2 separate regions of the Homo sapiens genome follow, and region 2 is linked to region 1. Evidence: promoter capture Hi-C in 16 types of primary human blood cells and fetal thymus (Javierre and others, 2016). All regions are on one chromosome and are shown on one strand. Each heading gives the region's core, a stretch centred on a gene start or on the middle of the fragment in contact. The rest is flanking DNA. Distances are from core to core; before and after follow the strand shown.

Region 1 (6,156 bases), core at 1,929-4,428:
GGCTCACAGCAACCTCTGCCTCCCTGGTTTAGGCAATTCTCCTGCCTCAGCCTCAAGTAGCTGGGATTACAGGTGTGTGCCACCATGCCCGGCTAATTTTTTTTTGTATTTTTTAGTAAAGACGGGGTTTCACCATGTTGGTCAGGCTGGTCTTGATCTCCTGACCTCGTGATCTGCCCACCTCAGCCTCCCAAAGTGCTGGGATTACAGGCATGAGCCACCCCGCCCGACCCAAGTTACTTTTTAATAGTTTAAAAAACTGCGTGCCAATACAATTTCGGAATCATATAAATTACTGACCACTTGTCACAGGATTTTACAAAGAGCTTCAAATTTAGGAAGATAGGCAAAACACTAGGATTAATATAACAATTAAGGAAAAAACGGCTAAGAAGTGAGGTTACTTGAAAAAATAAGAGGAGAAATCAATATGAAGCTATTTCAATGTTTACATCTATAGGAAATACAGGCTGAGTATTCTTAATCTGAAAATCCAAAATGCTCCACAATGTGAAATTTTTTGAATGCTGACATGATGCTCAAAGAAAATGCTCATCGGAGCATTTCAAACTTTTGATTTTTTTTAATTAGGGATGCTCAACCAGTACAACACAAATATTCTAAAACCTGAAAAAAAAAAAGCCAAAATCTAAAACACATTTCTGGCTCAAGCATTTTGGATAAGGGATACTCAACTTATATATACTTCGGCTTTTCTAATGTTTTTTAGTCTTCAAATACAGTCTTGTCCTCATGCAACCTGAAATATCTTAGAAATGCCAACTTTCGGCATCCACAGAGCCCTGAAAGGGACATGAAAATCCCTTGTCAGTTTAGGTATCTAATATTTTGACTTAGAAAATGTCAACCGCTTATATACTAGGCAAAATCCTAATAGGAGATTTATAGTTCCTGGATTAAATTCTCCCTTACAGCCATGTTCTGTGAATGTTTTAAAACCTGAACCTGAAATGACAATTAAACAGAGAAAACTCTTCCAATGAATTTAAAAGAATTATCTAAGGACACTTCCTAAAGAATAATACATAAATTGATTTCAGACACTACTGAATGACTTGAGGTCATTTGTTGGCATCTTTGATAACTGTAAAATAAAATTTAGAATTATTTCAACTTGCCCTACCCTAATCTAAATGACCTCATACAAAATTAACTTAGGCCATGGTACAGTCCATAAGTAACAGTTCTGAATGTCTAAATATAAACACAGGTAACTGATGATATCTAACACTTTTAAGTCCTCTTTAAAAATGACATTAAAATAAAATGTCTGTTTTCCAGTTCTAAAATACTTTTATTTCTAAGTGGCTATTAACAGATCTGACTGAGACAATGTAATACAGTAGAAAGTACGGAATGCCAGGAGTCAAAGCCCATGGTTTGAATTCAGGCTTTGTTAATAACTAGCTATGTCTGAACAAATCATCCTTGTGAGTTATGGGCATAAATGCTCCACCTGCTTGCCTCAAGAATTAGAGACAATAACTTACATGAAACTGCTTTGTCAATCATCAGGCACTATACAAATATAAAGTATTACCTGTCGACGACAACCCACAACATATCTTGGTCCATTGGTAGCTTTAACAATGACTAGAAGAAAAAACATAAAAGAACTAATTGAAAAATAGAAAGTAAAAAAATACATACCCACGTTGACAGAGGGTTTAGTTGTATTTCTGTCCTCCAAGGAGACATTAGTTGAAGGAAAACTTAAGTCTATTCAAAAATACTCTCTCTCTCTGCATTATTGTCATTAAAATAATAAGCATTTCAAAAGTGAGAGAGAGGTGGACTGTTTCTTTACTAATTAATAAGCTAATTCATCACTCACATTTTTCTTCAGTTAACTGTTTAAGCACTTCACCCACGATCTAAGGAAGAAAATAAAAAGCATTACTTTTTGGCAACAGCTAAATAAAAAAGCAAATTACCATCACCCCCTATTCCCCAAACTCCATCACCTACCTGCCCAACACTCTGTAGGGCCTTCAGATCATTTTCAGACTTTTCATACTGCTTGGTAAGTTCTTTTAATTGTTCCCTTACTGAAATAATACAATTTGAACATTTTTAATTGAACAGTAATCTTAGTGTGTTTAAGTCGCTACGTCTCACTTTACTGTTTACGTAAGTCTACTTCACTTTACCTAAGTTTCACATCCACTGTTTCAAACCATAAAAGAAATAATGCTGTTTGTAATGAGTAGGTGGCATGTATAACAACAAAATGTTACAGAGAAAGCACCATACTTTTACTTTGTTGATCGGCAATACTTGTTTAAGCACATCTTAAGTTATAGTCTTAGAAGATATTGACACCCTGACACTTAGGATTTGCGACTACAAATCCGAATGATAATCACTTAGACCCTTCCTCACCTCTTCACCTACCCACGTGGATTGTTCTCTGACATTCTACCCTAAATAAAGTCAACAAATGCAGTTCTCCACAGAATCATGTAATTATGGTCCTCCATTTAATTAAACTACTCATGCTTTTCAATGAAAATGCACTGGAAAAAAAAGTTAAGCACTCAGGAGGTAAGGGAAATTTGTATGCCTGATACAGTACAACACGAAACACAAGACGATATGGGTTATTATGACAACTGGAACACTTCTCTCTTAAGCTCCGCGGCCGTCTTTCGACTCCAAGAACAAGCCGACTCCCTGAGTCTCATCTCTTGTTTGAGCTTACTTGACTCAAGCGCCTTCCCCTCTCCAAGTCCCGGGACTCCACCAAGACTGCCCTTCTTGCACCCTAACCTGGGAAACATCCTCGGCCCACTTCCCCACTCCTCCTCTACTTCTTTTTCATTTTCACCTCAAGGCCGCCGATGTTCTGTCACCCGGGCTGGACTGGGCCATTTCTACACCCGAAGGAGTGCTGCTCCACAAGCTCAGGGCCGGATGACAAAGCGCCTTGTCCCTGGCCCTAGGCCTGGTCATCTCTAAGGCTCGGTTGCCGGGCTCGGCGAAAGGCTTCTGCTTTGTCAGAGGCAGAAGCGAGTCGAGGCACTTGATTAAATGGAAAGAAAGGTGCACTCACACTCCTTAAGACGGCCGTCGATCTCCTTGTGTTCAAGCAACTTCTTGCGGTAGTCCTGAAGCGCCTTATCTCTAGGGTCCGCCATGATGAGAAGCCGTCTCTCATAGGGGATGCCGGGAATGGCCATGGCCGTCCGGGCGGGGGAAGGGGCGGGGCGAGGGGCGAAACCCTGCCTGGAGGGGTGGGTTCGCCCATGAGCCCTCCCCTTCCGGTTGGCCCCGTCTTTCTACTCCACTTCCACCTCTATGTCTCGGTTCACCTAGAGCGCCGGCATACACTGAAAGAGGCCTCCACCTATACCGTTTCTTGCAAGCCGAGATAGGTAAAGCAGGACTCAGTTATCCCGGTCTTCCCCTGAGAGGCCTCAGTATTAAGTCACTGCTGTCCCGGAAGTATAAAAGGCTCTGTAATAAACTGAGATGGAAGTGAAGTAGGAAATGTGTAATACCTCAAAGGAGTTCCGATGGCCTGTCGACACAACACAGATGGCCTTTGTTATAACACAGTACTGTCCAAGACCTCCACGTGCTGGAGAAGTAGACAGTTTTATTCATCCATTCAGTCAGTGAATGAGGTATTAAAGGTAGATCTGCTTATCATTTGATAGGAAATAATAATAAAAAAAACTTCAGAGTTTAACAAATACTGTGAAGGAATTAAAACACGGTGAGAAGTATGGTGGGAAGAATTAATCTAGAACAGATATCTGAGATGAGAAGGAGCCAGCCTTGCAACAACTGAAGAAAACCTAAACAAACAGTGCAAGTCCTGGAGTGGAGTGGGGTGGGGGTTGTGGGTAGAAAGCTTGACTCACTTCCAGGAACAGAAAGGAGGCCAATGAGACCAGTAGGGGGTGGGTTGTAGAGATGTGGGGTACAAGATAAAGATGCTGAAGTAGGCTGAGGCAGGAACTTTGAAGTCTGATAGAACCTTCAGATTTATGTATTTATTTATTTACTTTTGAGATGGAGTCTTGCTCCTGCCGCACAGGCTGGAGCGGTGACGCGATCTCAGCTCACTGCAACCTCCACCTCCCGGGTTCAAGCAATTCTCCTTCCTCAGCCTCCGGAGTAGCTGGCATTACAGGTGTGCGCCACCACAACCGGCTAATTTTTGTATTTTTAGTAGAGACGGGGTTTCGCCATGTTGGCCATGCTGGTCTCGAACTGCTGACTTCAGGTGATCCACCCTCCTCAGCCTCCCAAAGTGCTAGGATTACAGGTGTGAGGCACTGCGCCCGGCCAGATTTTTTTTTTTTTTTTTTTTTTTTTGAGTCTGTGTCTCACTCTGTCACCCAGGCTGCAGTGTAGTGGTGCGATCTTGGCTCACTGCAACCTCTGCCTCCCGGGTTCAAGCGATTGTCGTGCCTCACCCTCCTGAGAAGCTGGGATTACAGGCGCCCGCCACCACGCCCGGCTCATTTTTGTATTTTCAGTAGGAATGGGGTTTCACCATGTTGGCCAGGCTGGTCTCCAACTACTGACCTCAAGTGATCCGCCCGCCTCAGCCTCCCAAAGTGTTGGGATTACAGGCGTGAGCCACGACGCCTGGCCAACTTTCAGATTTTTGTGATTTGGGGAAAATTACATACTCCCTCAATATCTCTGTAAAATGATCATAATAATTGCACTTATCTAATGGGGTTGTCATGAGTATTAAATAGGATAATGTGCCTAAACACAACATCTGCCACATGGCATGTACTCAATAGTGTTCTTTTGAATAGATATTTATTTTAAGGGTAGTAATGACTCCAATTTTTGCATTACAGGTCCTCATTGCTATACCTCTTGCTATCATTGTTCCTGGGGACAATTAATTGTTGTCCAAAAAACATGAGTAAAATTCTCCAAATAGATTCCATTTGGTCTCACCTTATCCAATGGCCATGAATGTTTGAGTTTAAATATATACATCCTAAATATACAAATAAAGTACAAATTTTTGTAAATTAATGACCCAAAGTCACATAAAGGATGCCTTCAAATTTATTAGGAACAATTCTCATGGGTATTGTGTGAATATTCCATTCTATTTTTCTTTTTTTTTTTTTTTTTTTTTTTTTTTTTTGAGTTGGAGTCTTGCTCTGTCGCCAGGCTGGAGTGCAGTGGCGCGATCTCGGCTCACTGCAACCTCCACCTCCCGGGTTCAAGTGATTCTCCTGCCTCAGCCTCCCGAACAGCTGGGATTACAGGCGCACACCACCACGCCCAGCTAATTTTTGTATTTTTAGTAGAGACAGGGTTTCACCATGTTGGTCAGGCTGGTCTCGATCTCCTGACCTCGTGATCCGCCCGCCTCGGCCTCCCAAAGTGCTGGGATTACAGGCATGAGCCACCGCGTTCGGCCAATTTTTCTAAATGTGACTGGGTTCTTGCAGTATACAATGAACAAGGAAGCTGTATGGGGCAGGGATAGTCCCTTCTCCCACTCAGTTGCAACTACTCTGGTCAAACTAGTCCATCCATACCAAAACATGTCACCTCTGACATCAAGAAGTAAAGAAGAGAGGACAAGGCAGAGAAAGAAAGCTCAGTATGGCTCAATTTAAAATATTTATGAGCACATACTGATAGGTTATTTTAACATTAATCACATCAATATTTTAAAGTCCCTTAACCCTTGTTCTTTTTCTTTTACCCATCTGGCAGCATTTCAACTTCAGAAGAATCTTCTATTTTCCCCATGCCTACACTAGCCCTGTTACTTTTTTGTTTGTTTGTTTGTTTTTTGTTTTGAGCAGGAGTCTCGCTCTGTCGCCCAGGCTGGAGTGCAGTGGTGCGATCTCGGCTTGCTGCAACCTCCGCCTCCCGGGATCAAGGGATTCTCCTGCTTCAGCTTCCAGAGTAGCTGGGACTACAGGTATGCGCCACCACACCCGACTAATTTTTGTATTTTTGGTAGAGATGGGGTTTCACCATGTTGGTCAGGCTGGTCTTAAATTCCTGAGCTCAGGTGATCCACCCGCCTTAGCCTCCCAAAGTGCTGGGATTACAGGTGTGAGCCACCGCGCCTGGCCGTTACGTTTTTATACATGCCTATAAGACTGTATTCCTCTCCATCTGAAAACGTAGCTCAACTTG
Region 2 (6,156 bases), core at 2,057-4,556, 400 kb before region 1:
GTGAGTGGGAAGAGCTGGGTAAGGAAAGGCTTAAGAGACTGAGAAAATAGGAGAAGGGAACAGAGGTTAAAATAAACCACAGGCAACATCACCCTCAGAAAAAGTCCTCAGCGTTGCCAGGTACAAAGACAGGCCTAGGACTTGGTAATTTATAGAACTAGCTACAGGAAGCTGTATGAAAGTGAGAGGGGCCACAAGCAGCAGCTTCAGAGTAGCATTGCTCCTAGAAGAGACAGAGAAAAGAACGACACCTCTTGGAGGCATGGCAGCAAGAGGAAAGGAAGGAAGTGGGGATAAAATTGAGGCTTCTAGAGAAATGAAAGAGAAACAAGGCACGGCAACCCAACCCCCACCCAACAACTCCACCGTAACACCGTCCATTATAGGCGCTCCTCTTTACTAATCTGCAGAAGTGAATGCTCTTAAACTAAGAACCCAAGAACCCTATGCTCAAGAATAGAAATGAATCAAATGCTACACAAAGCTACTTTAAGAGGAATATAAAAATTTGAAAGAAAGTGTTTCAGTTGATAAAACTTCTCCCCAAAAAAGCAAATGCAAAGGGAAAGGGCATCTCAGTGCTCCAACCAAATAAAATATTCTCAAACAAATCTGTGAACATACTACAAAAACCACAAACTTAGAAGCAGAAATCTAAACTCTGACATGAAAAGAAGTGAAAAAGGAAGAAGTGCAACAAAATTTGATTGAACACAGGAAAGAAATTGAAGAGAAAGGCAAAGCCATCTCGGGAGACTACAGTAATCCAGCTTTATAGCTGTGGTTTCGCTTTCTGCAGTTTCAGTTAGCCACAGTCAACTAGAGTCCAAAAATATTAAATGGAAAATTCCAGAAATAAGCAATTTTAAATTGTTTTTGTTTTTTGGTTTTGGTTTTTTTGAGACAGAGTCTTGCTCTGTCACCCAGGCTGGAGTGCAATGGCACTGTTACCAGGGGTCCTTGCTCCCAGAGCTCCCAAGATGGCAGCGGGCTGCTTCCAAGCTTGTGGCAAGTCTCACGTTCTCTGACCTGGGGTTCTTGGCCTCACGGATTCCAAGGAGTGGAATCTTGGGCCATGCAGTGAGTGTTATAGCTGTATTAGAAGCCGTGGGTCACGGAAGAGAACCTTGGAACCCAGTGACTAGTGTTCAGCTCAATTAGGATGAACCCGGGCACTTAGCTGTGCAGGAACAATGGCAAGCCTTTAGCCCAGTCGGGAAGAGCAGTGGGCGCCTCGCTGGATCAGGAGCACAGCAGACACCCTGCCGGATCCGGAGGGATGGAAGTCAGCGGCAGGTCTGCGATGGTGGCAAACAGCAGTGGTGGATGGGGAATGAAAGCTCAGCTCGAGCCGTAACAAACACGGACCAGAAAAGAGTGCAGTTGCAAGATTTAATAGAGTGAAAACAGAGCTCCCATACAAAGGGAGGGGACCCAAAGAGGGTAGCTGTTGCTGGCTTGAATGCCTGAGTTTATATCCTGATCATTGTCCCTCCCGCTGTGCTCTCAGGCAATAGATGATTGGCTATTTCTTTACCTCCTGTTTTTGCCTAATTAGCTTTTTAGTGAGCTCTCTTTACTACCTGATTGGTCGGGTGTGAGCTAAGTTGCAAGCCCCGTGTTTAAAGGTGGATGCAGTCACCTTCCCAGCTAGGCTCAGGGATTCTTAGTCAGCCTAGAAAATCCAGCTAGTCCTGTCTCTCAGCACGATCTCAGCTCACTGCAACCTCCGCCTCCCGGGTTCAAGTGATTCTCCTGCCTCAGCCTCCCAAGTAGCTGGGACTATAGGTGTGTACCACCATGCCTGGCTAATTTTTGTATTTTTAGTAAAGATGAGGTTTCACCATGTTGGCCAGTCTGGTCTCAATCTCCTGACCTCAGGTGATCCTCCTGCCTCGGCCTCCCAAAGTACTGGGATTACAGGCATTAGCCACTGTATCCAGCCACAATTACAAGTTTTAAATTGGATGCTTTTCTGATTGGTGTGATGAAGTCTCCAGCCATCCTGCTCCATCCTGCCCAGGATGGGAGTTATTCCTTTGTCTAGGATATGCAGCTGTTTATGCCACTGGTCCATTAGTCATTTAGTAGCTGTCTTGGTTATCAGATCAACTGTGGTGGTTTTGAAGTGCTTGTGTTCAAGTTACCTTTATTTTATTTAATAATGGCTCCAAAGCGCAAGAGTGGTGATGCTAGCACATTGTTATAATTGTTGGATTTTATTATTAGTTGTTGTTAATCTCTTATTGTGCCTAATTTATAAAGTAAGCTTTATCATAAATATGTATATATTGCAAAAACATTATAAGGTTCAATACTATTTAAGGCTTCAGGCATCCAGTGGGGGTCTTGGAATGTATCCCCCACAGATAAGGGGGGACTACTGTATATTAATTACAAGGTGCCCGTGGAGAATAGATTCAAATAAAAATCTAATAAGAGCCATTGATAAAAGGAAGGAAAACAACCAAGAGAATGTAAAAAGTAGTTTAAATTCAATACAGGCAAAAGAAGACCTAACATACTTAAAATTGGAGTCCCTAAAGAAGAAAAGCAAATCACTAGAACAGAACTAATTAAACCATAACTCAACACTTTTCAGAAATAATAGGAAATTTCAAATTTTACATATTAAAAGGCCCCATCATGGACAGATTAATACAGAACAGCTCTGAGTCATAGCCTAGTAAAACTATTAGATTTTAAAGACTTTTTTCCTGGGCCTCTTGAGAGGGGAAAAAAGATTATATTATTAATAAAATCAGGCTGACATCAGATTCCTTAAGAACAATATATTTTTTTTTGGTCTCACTCTGTCACCCAGGCTGGAGTGCAGGGGCATGATCTTGGCTCACTGCAACCTCCGCCTCCCAGGTTCAAGTAATTCTCATGCCTCAGCCTCCTGTAGCTGGGATTATAGGCATGCACCACCATGCCCAGCTAATTTTTATATTTTTAGTAGAGCTGGGGTTTTGCTGTGTTGGCTAGGCTGGTCTTGAACTCCTGGCCTCAAGTGATCCACCTGGCTCGGCCTCTCAGAATGCTGGGATTACAGGCATGAGTCACTGCACCTGGCCTAGAACAATATTCAAAGGAAGGCTACAGTAGAGCACCATTTTTAAAAACTCAAAGAAATAAAGCACAAGCTAGCCAACCTGTCTTTAGAGTATCAGATAAACAGTTTGAACACACAAGAATTTAGGAAATATGTGGTGATAATTTACTATATTTAAATGTAGATCCAAGACTTAAAACAGTGTTGGGGACATAGATGTAATTTTTATATGTTCTGACAAAGTAAAAAGAATAAAACTAAAAATAAGTGGGTGAACAAAGAATTAAGATTATTCTCCACAATATAGGTAATAAGTGAGAGTCATACAATACCTTTTAAATGGATTGACCAGATAATAAAAGGTAAAGTAGGCAAAAAGTCGATTTGGGTTACTCTAAAACACACACACATACACACACACCACCACCACCACCACCACAGGAGAGAGAGAGAGAGAACCACTGGAACAAAAAATTAAAATTTTCCTAACTACCAAAAGAAAGTACAAAAAATAAAAAAATAGCAGAAATACCACATAAAGGAAAAAAAAGAATACGTATGAATAACAAACATGGTAACTATAAAGATAGAGTTGAGTTCAAATATGTCAATCATATTAGTAAACATAAATGGGCTTAACTCATCTATTAAAATAAAAAGGTGTTCAAATGGCTTTATAAAGCAAAACCCAATTCTATGCCTTACACAAGAGACATATAAAACAGTGATTCCAACCATCAAAAATAAAGGAATGTATATGATATTACAGGCAAATGGAAAAAATAAGAAATCAGGAGTTTCCATTTTGCTGAACAAAGTAGAATCCAGGCAAAAACTATTCAGTATGACAGAGTATATTTATAATGGTTAAAGCCATAATTCACAATGAAGTTATAATATTTTTTAGTATCTAGGTACCAAATGACACAGCAAACACCTAAATATACCAGAATCACTATAGCAGAATATAGGAGAATGCAAGTAGCAATAGAAACACATAATAGAAAATTTTAAATACATCACAGTACAAATCTGGTATGACAAGATGTCTCAAGATCATCTAGTATATTTCTTGTCTCAAACCTGAAGTTAGCCATTTTTTTCAAGGACTCTTGGTTTCTTTTAATGGGAAATGATATTTATAGTTCACAATCTTTATATTAGGAGTGTTCACTTATACTGGGTTTGTCTTCAGTTCTAGGCCTTTACTAGGACATTTTTACAAAGAGAAAATACATCACTAGTCCATACTGAAGTTTTTAATTAAAATTTATGATTACAAGCTTTTTTATTTATTTGATTTTTATATTTGTATCTCTTTTGTCTTATGCTTAAAATCTAGGTTCCTAATGATATTAATAAAATTAATACATTCATCTTAACCTACAGTTTCAAATTAGTAATACAAATAGTATTACTAACAATATGGTTATTGCAAAAGGTTTAAGATGTTTGCAGTTCTTTTTCTCCATATTTTATTTCCAAATATGTATGTACAAATGACGGAGTTTTAAATTCACTTGAAATAATTTCTCTTTATATGATTAAACCACCAGCATTCTACATAATTAGATCCATTTGTTTCATTTTGCTTTTTACTTTTAGGGTTTTGTTATTTTTATTTTATTTTTGCTTTATTAAAAAATTGTTTTAAAGAATTCAAGATAGTTTAGCTGACAGTTGTAGTTTATTTTAAATAACAACTAAAAGTCTTGGGTTTCTAGGAATAGTGTTTCATCAAAAGTTAGCCAAGAAAGTTTTTCTTGATTTTTTTTCCCTAAAGTAGATGAAATATTTACTAATATAATAGTTTCATTTATCCTGTATATGTACTAGAAGCCTCTAGTCTCCAAGGCAGCTCTAAAAAGTGCCACACACTACTACCACACACACTATTTCTAAACACTAGTCTGGATTTTATATTAATATTTTCTAAGACATTGGAACTATCATCAGAGCCTTGCATGAAACTCGTTTTAACAAACCCTTAGCCTACTAATTTTGGTTATTCAGAGTCTCAATTATATACATAGCTGCTCATCTATCTTTCTAGTGCTAAAGTGATTTTTAGGCATAATAATTTAATATAAGTAAAAGTATGTGCCATAGAATATGATACACTCTGGCTCAAAATCTGGATTTTACAACTTTAAATGGGCCAGGCGCAGCAGCTCATACCTGTAATCCTAGCACTTTGGGAGGCCAAGGTGGTCACATCTCTTGAGCCCAGGAGTTTGAGACCAGTCAGACCAGTCTGGGCAACACGGCAAAACCACATCTCTACCAGAATAATATAAAAATTAGCCTGGAAGGTCAAGGCTGCAGTGAGCTGTGGTCACACTACTGCACTCTATCCTGGGCAACAGAGCAAGATAAATATCTCAAAATAAATAAACATAAATAAAAGTTTAGATGATTGTATTGGGTCATGAAAATCTGTTTTTGTGACAGCAGTAGCAAAATATAAGATTGTAGATACTGTGTCTCTTTTGGGGAAGTTGAATCTTAAAATGTGTATAATTCTGTGATTTCTCTTTTTCAGAGGCTGATAAAATACCAGTAATGCGTGGACAGTGGTTTATTGACGGCACTTGGCAGCCTCTAGAAGAGGAAGAAAGTAATTTAATTGAGCAAGAACATCTCAATTGTTTTAGGGGCCAGCAGATGCAGGAAAATTTCGATATTGAAGTGTCAAAATCCATAGATGGAAAAGATGGTAAGATCAATTGATACATTTAATATATTCTACAAACCAAGTAAGTTGTTGATAAAGTTTAGAGTGGTTTGTAAATTTGACATAATAATTCAGGAGGTTTAGAATTAGAAAATTTGATTTTTTTAAACATTTGATTATTCTAGAATTTAAAAATTAACTACTATAAATATCTGAACTATCTCAATTTTTATTTTAATATGTATGGTAAGTGTCATGATATTAACACAGTTTACTATAAATGTACAGATTGTTACAATGCACTCCCTATTTAATCTTTTTTAGTAATTTTTTAGTTATCAAAGGAAATTGAACTTAACCCAAAAATTCCTTGTTGTTATATCAAGACAAGTTTCATTAATATTTCAATGTTCTTTTCCTGAAGTTC

The links. Contacts are between HindIII fragments. The CHiCAGO score rates a contact against its expected background, and 5 or more counts as called.
Region 2: a fragment that was not itself captured here is called in contact with the fragment with the promoter of PSMC6 in region 1 in 1 of 17 cell types (non-activated CD4 T cells); the score reaches 5.2 in non-activated CD4 T cells.

What each region holds. Positions count from the first base shown.
Region 1 is chr14:52,704,222-52,710,377 of GRCh38, reverse strand. PSMC6 (proteasome 26S subunit, ATPase 6) reads right to left here and starts at 3,178. Exons shown (of 14, transcript NM_002806.5): 1 at 3,074-3,178; 2 at 1,990-2,069; 3 at 1,856-1,895; 4 at 1,562-1,614. The coding sequence starts at 3,158. RefSeq lists enhancers at 2,818-2,867, 2,888-3,137, 3,438-3,497, 3,518-3,627. The HindIII fragment of the contact is 4,351 bases long and covers 1-3,879 here.
Region 2 is chr14:53,103,298-53,109,453 of GRCh38, reverse strand. It overlaps DDHD1 (DDHD domain containing 1), which reads left to right. Exons shown (of 13, transcript NM_001160148.2): 2 at 5,598-5,771. Among named protein-coding and RNA genes, the nearest start is that of DDHD1, 47 kb to the left of the region's middle. RefSeq lists an enhancer at 139-438. The HindIII fragment of the contact is 2,069 bases long and covers 2,272-4,340 here.